Linked DNA regions of Homo sapiens: region 1 is linked to region 2. Evidence: promoter capture Hi-C in 16 types of primary human blood cells and fetal thymus (Javierre and others, 2016). All regions are on one chromosome and are shown on one strand. Each heading gives the region's core, a stretch centred on a gene start or on the middle of the fragment in contact. The rest is flanking DNA. Distances are from core to core; before and after follow the strand shown. Region 1 overlaps BDP1 (BDP1 general transcription factor IIIB subunit). Region 2 holds the start of MARVELD2 (MARVEL domain containing 2).

Region 1 (6,052 bases), core at 197-2,696, 2.1 Mb before region 2:
ATCATTTATTGTATTATTTCAAAATAGCTAGAAAATTATGTTGCCAATATAAAGATAAAAGTATGAAGTGATGGATATCCCAGTTACTCTGATCTGGTAATTATATATTGTGTATAATGTATCAAAATATCACATGTAGTCCAAAAATATGTATAACTATTATATATCAAAAAAAAATTTAAGGCTTTTTAAGACAAAAAGCAGGGGGAGGGGCTGTAATATTGAAAACAAAAGTAATCCAGGTTGGGCGCAGTGGCTCATGCCTGTAATCCCAGCACTTTGGGAGGCTGAGGTGGGTGGATCACCTGAGGTCAGGAGTTCGAGACCAGGTTGGCCAACATGGTGAAACCCCATCTCTACTAAAAATACAAAAATTAGTAGGGTGTGGTGGTGGGTGCCTGCAATCCCAACTACTCGGGAGGCTGAAGCACAAGAATCACTTGAATCCAGGAGGCGAAGGTTGCAATGAGCCACGATCAAGCCACTGCACTCTGAGACTCTGTCTCCAAAAAAAAAAAAAAAAAAGTAATCCATACTAAAATAAAAACTTCACATTAGAAACTCGTCTAAATGAAAGCAAACTGCTTCAAGCATCTAAAATTAACAGAGGTCGGGCACGGTGGCTCACCATGTAATCCCAAGATTTTGGGAGGCCGAGATGGGCGGTTCACTTGAGCTCAGGAGTTCAGGACCAGCCTGGGCAACATGGTGAAACCCCATCTCTACAAAAAGATACAAAAATATTAGCCAGGCATGATGGTGTGCACCTGTGGTCCCAGCTACTCGAGAGGTTGAGGTGGGAGAATTGCTTGAGCCCAGGAAGTTGAGGCTGCAGTGAGCTGTGACTGCGCCACTGCACTCCATCCTGGGCGACACAGTGAGACACCTTGTCTCAAAAAGTAAATATAATAAAAAGAAAATATAAATCAATAGCACCTGTTTTGACAGATGACCTAACATGCCCAAATTCTAGCTTCACCTAACTAGAGAGGGTTAAAAAAGGATACAATAACATCTCCTCTGCATTTCCCAGAAAGCCAAAGTCACTCTACCTAATTAAAGGAAGCTGAAATATTTAAAGTATATTCATAAGTGCTGAAAACATCCTGGAGGAAAATTAATAAATACTTCACTAAAACATGTTCTAGTTACTAAGACAGTAAGTTAGATGGACCAAGAACTATATACAGAAAGGAAAGGCGTTTTTACTAAAGAAAAGAACACATCTTGCTTTAATAATAAGAAGGCAGATAGCAAGTAATAAATAAAAGTGGTAATGTTAAAACTTCTTCACCCTACTAGCTCATCTCAATTAAAAGATATCATTCTTACCATTTGGCTTCGATGTAGTTACCTCTAAATATAGTATACTGTTAAGTATACTTTATAGCACTACCTATTAATGAATTTTAGTCAGTAGGTTATAAACTTCTTTTCTTTTTTTTATTTGTTATTTTTATAGAGACGAGGTCTCACTATGTTGCCCAGGCTGGTCTTGAACTCCTGGACTCAAGCGATCCTCTCGTCTTGGCTTCCCAAAGTGCTGGGAGATTACAGGCGTGAACCACTGCGCCTGGCCTAAATTTCTAAAAAAGATACAGAGAACTTAAGAATCTTTGTCTACTATTAAAAATTTAGTTTTGGTACCAAAAAGTAGGATGCTTGTCAAACTTTTCAGAGAAATTACATATACTTAAGGGAATATCATATACTTAAGAGAATATCAGCCATGCAATTCATACAGTATTCGAGAAGCAGATTTAAAAGACTCTAGTATCACAAGTATTTATTACTTTATCCTTTTAACATTTTCAGGATGTGAAGTTATTAATATATAAAGTCAACTATGCAAAAATATAACTTTTATCTTTGAAAAGTCTTATTTTTTCTCATTAAAAGCAAACTCACCTGATTGTTTCATTTGTTTTGTTAACATGAAGGTTTTCTACAAGAACCACCTGACTTTGATTTTCATACATTCTGTGTTCTGGAACTGCGGACGATGGAACTTCAATTTCAGTTTCAATTTGAGAATTTGACTGAAAAGACAAAATCATATTAGTATGTTATTTTTATAGCAGAATATACCTCTTAAAATATTTCCACCATTAAGATATTTAGTTTTTTAAAATCCCTTTTCTTTTTTAAATTTTTATTTATGCATTTTGAGATAGTCTCATCATACTGCCCAGGCTAGTCTCAAAGTCCTAGGCTCAAACGATCCTCCTTCCTCAGCCTCCTGAGTAACTGGGATTACAGGCAGATACCACCATGGGTGGTTAATTCTTTAAAATTAGATTCAAACTGGATATGTAATGTTCACATTCTGTTGCCAAAAACAAGGATGCCTAGTTCAGAGAAAAGTTTCAAAGATTATTGCAGTAATATGTTTACATAATACTTTGAAAACTATAATAGTCACCTGCTATGAAATTAAAAATAAACAAAGTTTAATTTTTTTTTTTAAGAAAGAGCTTTTTGGTTCAAATAAAGATTATTTTAAATCTAGACTTTGCATTGTTTAACAGAAAAATAAGAACTACCTAAAATGAACATTTTTAGACATTACACTACTTAGACTTTTTCCCTAATACCAAAAGACCCATTAATAAGAGATTAAACTGTTACTCAAAACAGCATGTTATACAGCAAAAATGATGTAACTAACATATTTCTTGATCCAGAAAGCCACTTAACATAGTATTCAGTGAATAACAGAAAGTTATAGTACGTAATGACTTTATTGTTTAAATTTGCATAAGTGTGCACATAATGTGTGCATGGAAATAAATCCAGTAAGATATGTCAAAAGGTTTTCAGTGGTTATCTCAGAGTAAGATTTGCGGTATTTATATTATTTTGTCCTAATGGAACATTTTACGATGAATAGCTTCATTAATTAGAAAAGAAATAAATCTATTTTCACTTAAAAAAAAAATCCAGAAGAGCAAATCTGAAACAAAACTGGAAACTGTATTCATTGAGTAGAATAAGTGTCAGATGCCTGTATTTCTAAGCTATGTCTGAGCTATAACTTGACATTTTAAATGCATTAAAAGGCTAAATTTAATTACATAACAATAACTCACCACAGTTAAGACTTTCTTTTCAGTTTCATCTTTTGGTAATATCGTTCTTCCTTCCTTAATTATGCCTTTGGCTTCACCTTTGTCTACTATTTGCCTCTGTCCTGTCTTTCTTATATTTGGTCTCGGTCTCTGAAGTCGGCCCCTTACTTGTCGAGCAGTTTGGATAACACTTTCCTTCATTTCTTGCTGGAAAGTGTTTACATTATTAGTCCTAAACAAGGGGACAGGGAGAAAGGCAGGGCGCTTGACTGTAAAAAGCTGAAAACTAATGTAAAAATGTAAAATTTGGATCTCCTCTAATAAACACTCTAAAAAATACTTTGTACCATTAAAGGGAAATTGCTTTCTGATTATAAACATCTTATTTTACAAAAGAAAACAGTTATGTCAATTCTTAAAAGGTAATAAACTTATATAATATGCCTAAAGTAGCTAAATATACAGATAGAATGGTGGTTGCCAGGAGCTGGAAGAGGAGGAGAATGAGTTAGTATTTAATGGGTAGAGAGTTTCATTTTATGAAGATGAAAAAGAAAGTCTAGAGATGAATGGTGGTGGCAACGGGACAACAATGTGAATACACTTAATGCCACTGTATATTAAAAAATAGTTAAAATGGTAAATTTTATCTTATGTGTATACTAATTTTTAAAAGTTAATGAATATATATAGCTTATATACATATAAGCTGAGTAGCCCTATCCAAAATGCTTAGGACCAGAAATGTTTCAGATTTCAGATTTTTTTAGATTTGGAAATATTTGCATTATACTTATCAGTTGAGCATCCCTACTTTGAAAATCCAAAATGCTCCACTGAGCATTTCTTGAGCATCATGTCAGCTCTCAAAAAGTTTTAAATTGTGGCACATTTCAGAATTTTTTATTAGGGATGCTCAACTTGTAGTTTTTAAATGCATTGCTTTGTATACACTCTTACGCAGCTGACAATGCAGATAAGCAGGCAACCATTAGAAGGTGTTGAATTCAATCTGATATTATATTTTAGGCAGTCTGCTGTATCAATAAAATTAAACCAATATTCTTTATGTTCACTTTTTAAATGCATTAACATATCTCAATAAAAATTAGAAATATTTAAAAGAAGTATCTCTCTTATTTTATATTGTCAAAGAAAATCACTGTTTACCCCACAGAAACAACTGAGTCATTTTTCTGGACTGGTGCTGACTGAGACTCCTCTTTAGGTTCACAAGAATTTGAAGGTGAAAGGTTCCTTTCAGTCTGTGTACATGGCAATATCACAGCCTCCTCATTCCTGTGACCTAATGTGTCTTTTTCTCTTGATATCATTAGGGAAGCTTCATCCTAGAAGACAGAAAAAAAATTTCATTCACAGTTGCTAAAAGTATAAGGAAATAAGAACTTTACAAGTATAAACTGATATCATCTTCGTGAAGAATAATAGGGTAGTCTATACCAAAATTCTAAATTCCCAGCAATTCCACTTCTAGAAATGTATCTTATAAATACTCAACAAGTAGAAATATACACACAAAAATATTTATTGTAACAATTTAAGCACCACCTCCCTCACCGGAAAAGACAAACAAAAAAATCAGAAATAAAACAGATATATCATTAGGGGATGGAATAAATAAATTTTAATTTCTTTACAATGCAATAGTACCTAATCATTTAAAAGAAGATATATCTCTTTGTACTGATCTAAAAAGAAGCTCACAATACTGTAAGTGGAAAAATCAGAAAGCAAGAATTAATGTCATTTTGGAAAACAATAAAAATACCTTCCCATTTTATCATTTTATAACTGTAAGACGAAAAAGTGTAAGTGGATATATTCAAAATTGCTGTATGATTAACTTGGGGGAAAGGGACGTGACATTATAAAAGACTCTCACTTTTTAGAATACATATATTTTTCCAAATTAAAATTTCTATAATCAGAAAGTATAATACAAATGTAACTTATCTTTTATGAATATAAGCTTAGGAGAAATAGTACAAATGTTGATGCACAGTAAAGTACTGAGCTATTTTAAGACATCAAATAAGAATTTTAATTCTAAGAAGGACTTCCACTGAATGTGGAAAACATTCAGTTTATAATTATTCATTTCGTTTCAATGTTTTTTTGATGGTATGTCACACAATCTTAATCTGTTATGGACCAAGTTAATAAAGTAAATAAAATATCACCTTTAACTCAAATCAAGCTTTTAACTCTTCATTTCACCTTCACAAGAGAGTGAAATAAAAAACGATTATTCTCGCTGGGCGCCACGGCTCAGCGTAATCCCAGCACTTTGGGAGGCCAAAGCAGGCAGATCACGAGGTTAGGAGTTCGAGATCAGCCTGGCTAACATAGTGAAACCCCATCTCTACTAAAAATACAAAAAAAAAAATTAGCCGGACATGGCAGCACGCGCCTGTAGTCCCAGCATTCAGGAGGCTGAGGCAGGAGAATCGCTTGAACCTGGGAGGTGGAAGTTGCAGTGAGCCGAGATCGCGCCACTGCACTCCAGCCTGGGAACAGAGTGAGACTTCATCTCAAAAAAATAAAAATAAAAAAAATAAAAAACTATTATTGTCATTTTTTCTATGAAGAAAATTGTTTAATCAATGGTCACATAGCTGGAACTGGAACCAGAGCCCAGACCTGAACGCTTTCCCACAACACGTTTGCCCATTATCAGATATCTGAGATTCTTACACAAATTATGTGGAACAATGAGGCACATTAAGCATGGGAGCAATATCACATGCAGCAAAAATTACACAGAAATATTTGTAGAATTTTAATGCCAGGTGCTTTTAGTAGTCCTAATAACTTAAAAAAAAAAAAAAACACCCACACAGAACTTCCATCTCAAATACACTCACATGTTGAGAAGGGAGAGTATCAGTTTGTTCATTATTTTCTTGCATCACAATAGTCTCCATTTTCTTGGTTTCTGATTTCTTCTCATATATATATTTTTC
Region 2 (5,991 bases), core at 1,355-3,854:
CACCCGCCTCGGCCTCCCAAAGTGCTGGGATTACAGGTGTGAGCCACCACGCTCGGCCGCTAATTCTTTAAAATTTTTAGTAGACATTAAGTATCACTATGTTGCCTAGGCTGGTCTTGAACTCCTGGGCTCAAGCGATCCTCCTGCCTTGGCCACCCAAAGTGCTGGGATTACAAGCGTTAGCCACTGCACCTGGTCTGATAACCCCATCTTTATACTGTTGAACAATTTGGAAATTCCTAAGGCTTTATTTTATTTTACTTTGGAAAACGAAGACCCTTCATTTAACCTGCCTTGCACCAGGCATGCTGAAAGTATACTGGTGGACAAACCAGACTGAAATCCTTGCCTTCATGATGCTTTAACCGGGGGAGTGCCGGGCAGATTGACAGATGATAGATAAATGAAATATACAGTATGCTAAAGAACAAAGTTGAGAAAGGGGGTAAAGACTGCAATGGGGACAGGATGTTACCATCTTAAACCGAGTGGGCAGGGAAATCTTCACAGAGAAAGGGATATCTGAGTATAGAACTGAAGGTGAAGGAGGAAGCCAGGCCATTATCAGGGACAAGTGTTCAGGCAGATGGAATAGCTAGCGCAAATGCCCTGAAGCAGGAGTGCCTGGTATGTTCAAGAAATATTTAGGCATGGAAGCTACTGTGGCAGCAGCAAAGTGGGTAAGAAGGTGAATAGTAGAACTGAGGCCATCTGAATCATGTAGGGCCTTGAAAACCACTGGAAAGAAAGGACTTTGTCTTTTGCTAGGAGTGAGATGAGAAGCCACTGGAGGATTCTGAATAGAGGAGTGACATGACTTGACTTGTTTTAACAGTATCACTATGGATGCTGTGTTGAGAGTACACTCCAGAAGGCAAGAGGTAAAACAGGAAGACTGGCTAGGCCATTGAAATAATCCAATGGATCACTGAGATCTTGAGAAGAGGTCAAATGCTAGACAGGTATTTAAAATTTTTATTATAGAATTTTTCAAACATAATAAAAAGTAGAAAGAATAGCATTATGAACCCTTGTGTACCCACATCCAGCTTCTACACTTATCGATTTATGGCCAAACTTGTTTCATTTATACTCCCCATACTATTTCCTCTGCCAATAGAGTCCTCTGAAGTAAACCCCAGACATCTGATCATTTTATCTATCTATACCTCATTCTCCACCCCTCCAGCTTAGCCTTGGGGAGCAGCAGACTGAAGAGTGTTTCAGATGCGTTAAAAATCCAGGTAGAGACGTTAAGAGGGCAAGCAAGGCACACAGGGTATGTACAGACTGGAGACAAGGGAATGCGGTGGAAACCCAGGGTCTTCTAATAGGGCACTCCGACCTTAGAGGATTAACTGTGATGGCCCCAGCAGGGTGCCCAATGCAAAGCGGCTCTGTATATTATAACAATCAGTTATTTTTGTACCTTTCTCTTTCTTTCTCTAAAAAAGTGTAAGTTCTAGAAATGCTATTACGACTCTAGTTTTTGAAACACATTCCTAAGAAATGTAGAAGCAAAAGCACAACAAATGATTTTAGCAAGTTTTACACAGCATTTACAGGATACGCTATGCTTAATTCAACTCACTGGTAAAAATACGATTCACTGTAATGGATTTAACTCTTCACCTGTGAAGTGGCTTATTTGAATCAAACCACCCTATCCATTTTTAAAGAAAAAACAAGCAATTATTAAAGAGTTGTGGAAAAGCAAGATAATGTGATTTTTAGAAGGGAATGGTTAGCTGTATTTCATTACATCTTAAATATCTGGATACCCCTAATGTCTTTCAAGATGTCACTGAGAGTTCGTTCTGGTCCCGCAGGTCGCGGCAGCGTGTGTCTTTGTCCTGCTCAGGCCCCGGACCCTTACTCCACTCTTGGACACTCATCTTGGAAAGCCGCGGCAATGGCAGGAGAAATGGCTGCCCCAGCAAAGTGTCACAGGAATCATGCCTGGTCACCTTTACACAAACAGAACCACCGGTTTACCTGGCTTAAAAGTTTTGCTGGACCCAAGAAACGGGTAGATTTCGGATACTTCTGCGCTTCCGAGGGGTCGGGAAAGGCTCTGCGGTTCTAACTAACCCACGACTGCCCGGGGGTACCGAGCATTTTAGCTGTGGGGTCTCCCCCGCGCCAGCCTCTGGGCGCCCGGTCCCACAAATCTCATTGTGTCCTCGGTTCTGCCCGCGCCGGCTAGGCGTTCGTCTTCGCGTTTCTGGCTGAAACCCACTGTCTTTGGAGATTCCGACCCAACGAGGCCGAAACTAAGCCGGGAGACCTCCCAGGTAAGGAGCACCGAGATCGCCCCGAGGTGCGCGCCCCGCCCCGCGCCCGGAAGGACGGCGGCTCGGCCGCACCTGCGTCCGCAGAGCGAAACCTGGCGGGACGCGGGCCTCCCCGGATCCCTGGCTCCGGCCTCCCCCGCGGGCTATGGCAGGCTGAGCGCCGAGCGCGGGCAGCCGTCCGTCGCAGCACACCTGGGCCGGGGGCCGCCGGGCCCTCCTCTCCCGGTCACGTGGCCCCACCCCGGTCCCACTTACCTGCGCAGCCGCCAGGAAGAGCGCGCACGCTGCCCAGGACTCTGAAACCGGTATCGGGCTCCCGGGGTGGGGGCGGGGCCGGGACGGGACGAGCCCAGCTTTCCCCGCCCGGCTTTGCCCCGCCCGGATCTGTCGGCCCGACAACCGCTCTGGGCCCAGGCTGCTCGGTGCCACCAGCCGGCACGTCGCGGCAATGACCACACACTGGGCTCTTTTGGAAAGAGTTTACAGTTCTCATCGCAACGTTGCCATCCTCTTCCCTATCTTTTGAAAAGTTTGACACTGGGGGAGGGAGATTGGTGCACTGTGCTTAAGGACCCATGGCAGCGAGTGCGTGCTAGATAATGTTAAAAGACAGGAGAAACAAAATTAAATTCAACATTTTAATTGTGATATAACTTATGTAAATACTTTCCAAAAAGTATCTAAGATATTCCACTGTACAACACATCAAAACTATCTGAGAAGCGGGAGACAATAAAGTGTAAATAAGGCACACAGTTTACACTCGTAATTGCATCCTAAACTGTTGAATAGTTGATATTTACAACCCCCCAATAACGTTTTTGCATCCTGAATTAGTCCTTCACATCTTGATATTTGGCATAATGTTCAAACACACTTTATACACACTGACCGCTCCTTAAACCACTCACAGATTTAATAAATACCGAAAAAATTAAGAGATTTGAAGGCTTGATCTTCTATTTACTTCAAGATGACAGAAGAGTAGGTTTCTTGTGATGAAATACTACAAGAATGAAGAATTAACAAACTGTTGTGTAATTCATCAGAAAAGCATATTAACTCTGCTGAAGTACCACTGAATGAAACAAAAATGAAGCTGTGAAGTAGCAATCTGATTAGCAGGCTGGCTTCTATGTCCCATCACTCTCGTAGTCTTCTATTATTATGTTTTCTTCCATGTCTCCTTGGGCTGAAAAGGGCTGGGGCTGGCTAGCAGGCAGTTCACTGGCACTATTCTGACTCAAAGGAAGAGACCAGGTTTCCGGCACAGTGGCTTGAGTGGGTTCACCCAGAGATTCCTCTGCAGAATGTCCTCCATTAAGCTGGGCTTCATCTCCGCTGTCAGGGTCTATCATTCCATGTTCCCTGTCAGTCAGGGCTTCCATTTTCAATCTGTCAGATTCACAGTGCAGGCATTAATAAGAACCAAAGGAGAAGATTTTTAAATTACACCATGAGTGTGATGATTATGAAGCCATCTTTCATTTACCTACATTGTGCTGTTTAGCTAGTCCCTTTAACTATAAAAACAAAACTACAAGGTAAATGACAAACTGAATAAGTTCCTACAACTTAAAATACAAAAAGGAGCTGAACACGATGGCTCATGCCTGTACTATCTGCACTGTGGGAGGCCAAGGCAGGCAGATCACTTGAGGCCAGGAGTTCAAGACCAGCCTGGCCAACATGGCAAAAACCCATCTCTATTGAAAATAGAAAAATTAGCCAGGCGTGGTGGCACGCATCTGTAATCCCAGCTACTCAGGAGGCTGAGGCAGGAGAATTGTTTGAACCCAGGAGGCAGAAGCTGCAGTGAGCCAAGCTCGTGCCACTGAACTCCAGCCTGTACGACAGAGCAAGACTCTGTCTCCAAACAAAAAACAAACAAACAAAAAAACCAAACCAAACCACAACAACAAAAACACCTAAAAATAAAAAGAAATAATGTCTTCAGTAAAGAATTTTTCTTTTTTCTTTTTTTTCATTGAGACTGTCTTTCTCTATCGCCCAGGCAGGAGTGCAGTGGTGCAATCTCAGTTTACTGCAACCTCTGCCTCCCAGGTTCAAGCGATTCTCCTGCCTCAGCCTCCCAAGTAGCTGGGATTACAGGCACATGCCATCATGCCCAACTAATTTGTATTTTTAGTAGAGATGGGGTTTCACCATGTTGGCCAGGGTAATCTTGAACTCCCGAACTCAGGTGATCCATCTGCCTCCGCCTCCCAAAGTGCGGGGATTACAAGTGTGAGCCACCACACCCAGCCTTCAGTAAAGAATTTTTACAAATTAAAAAGGAAAAAATGAAATAGAAAAATGGGCACAAACATGGACAACTTATAAAACAAATACAAATGGTTCCTAAATTGTTAAATCTAATTTGTAATTTTAAAAATGAAAATTAACATAATGAGCTACTACTGTCATCTTTTTTTTTTTTTGAGACAGTCTTGCTCTGTCACCCAGGCTACAGGGCAGTAGCACGATCTTGGCTCACTGCAACCTCCACTTCAGGTTCAAGCGATTCTCCTGTCTCAGCCTCTGGAGTAGCAGGGATTACACGCGGGCACCACCACACCCAGCTAGTTTTTGTATTTTTAGCAGAGATAGGGTTTCACCATGTTGGCCAGGCTGGTCTCGAACTCCTGACCTTAGATGATCCACCCACCTCAGCCTCCCAAAGTGCTGGGATTACAAGCATGAGCCACTGCGCCTGGCCTATTACTGTCATCTTCTAAACTGGCAAAGATACTTTTAAAACCCAGTGGTGGCAAGGGTTAGGAGAAAAGAACATACTGATACACTGTAAGTGGATACAAAACTGGCAAAATATTCTTGCCAACAATTTGGCAATAAAGAGGAAAAGCCCCAAAAGGTATATACCTATTGATCCAGCAATTTCATTTGTAGGAATTCACCCTAAGTAAATAGTATTTGAAGTGCATGATGACTTATCTATAAGGCTGGGATAGTAAAAGCTGAAAAAAAGCTAAATGGGCAAAAATAACGTGTAGGTTGAATTACAGGAAATTAAACACCTATTAAATATTAAGTATTAATATTTAATACTAAATACTAAACATATGAACAATGGTTTTAAATATGGTCAACATAAATAAAAGATAGTACCAGTCATTGTAATATATAGCACTGAAAATACTGCCTCTCGTGGCCAGGCGTGGTGGCTCACGCCTGTAATCCCAGCACTTTGGGAGGCCGAAGTGGGCGGATCACGAGGTCAGGAGATCAAGACCATCCTGGCTAACACAGTGAAACCCTGTCTCTACTAAAAATACAAAAAATTAGCTGGGCGTGGTGGCGGGCGCCTGTAGTCCCAGCTACTCGGCAGGCTGAGGCAGGAGAATGGTGTGAGCCCAGAAGGTGGAGCTTGCAGTGAGCCGAGATCGTGCTACTGCACTCCAGCCTGGGCGATAAAGCTAGACTCCGTCTACAAAAAAAAAAGAAAAGAAAATACTGCCTCTCAAGTCACATCAAGTAGGTAGTTGAACCAATAATAAAATAGTGAAGATTCTCATTCAATTTAGCCTTGTGTAAATTGCAGCAACTCAATACATCTCAGGAGCAAAAATACAATAGAACATACTTGTCTTTATTTTGATGCCATAATCTTAGGGGGTTGGGGAGAGAAGCCATCAAAGAGACTTGGTCCTGCTTTCATTCAGAGGGATGTGAGAAG

Evidence for each region. The method cuts DNA at HindIII sites, captures the fragments that hold promoters and counts their contacts. A CHiCAGO score of 5 or more calls a contact.
Region 1: a contact is called between a fragment that was not itself captured here and the fragment with the promoter of MARVELD2 in region 2, in 1 of 17 cell types (M2 macrophages). The highest score is 6.4, in M2 macrophages.

The regions. Positions count from the first base shown.
Region 1 is chr5:71,513,309-71,519,360 of GRCh38, reverse strand. It overlaps BDP1 (BDP1 general transcription factor IIIB subunit), which reads right to left. Exons shown (of 39, transcript NM_018429.3): 19 at 5,954-6,052; 20 at 4,239-4,417; 21 at 3,090-3,300; 22 at 1,909-2,039. Among named protein-coding and RNA genes, the nearest start is that of BDP1, 61 kb to the right of the region's middle. The HindIII fragment of the contact is 5,933 bases long and covers 1-4,412 here.
Region 2 is chr5:69,411,729-69,417,719 of GRCh38, reverse strand. MARVELD2 (MARVEL domain containing 2) reads right to left here and starts at 2,604. Exons shown (of 7, transcript NM_001038603.3): 1 at 2,550-2,604. RAD17 (RAD17 checkpoint clamp loader component) reads right to left here. Exons shown (of 19, transcript NM_133338.3): 19 at 2,919-3,689. The coding sequence ends at 3,428. RefSeq lists enhancers at 1,061-1,943, 1,944-2,827. The HindIII fragment of the contact is 19,290 bases long and covers 1-5,991 here.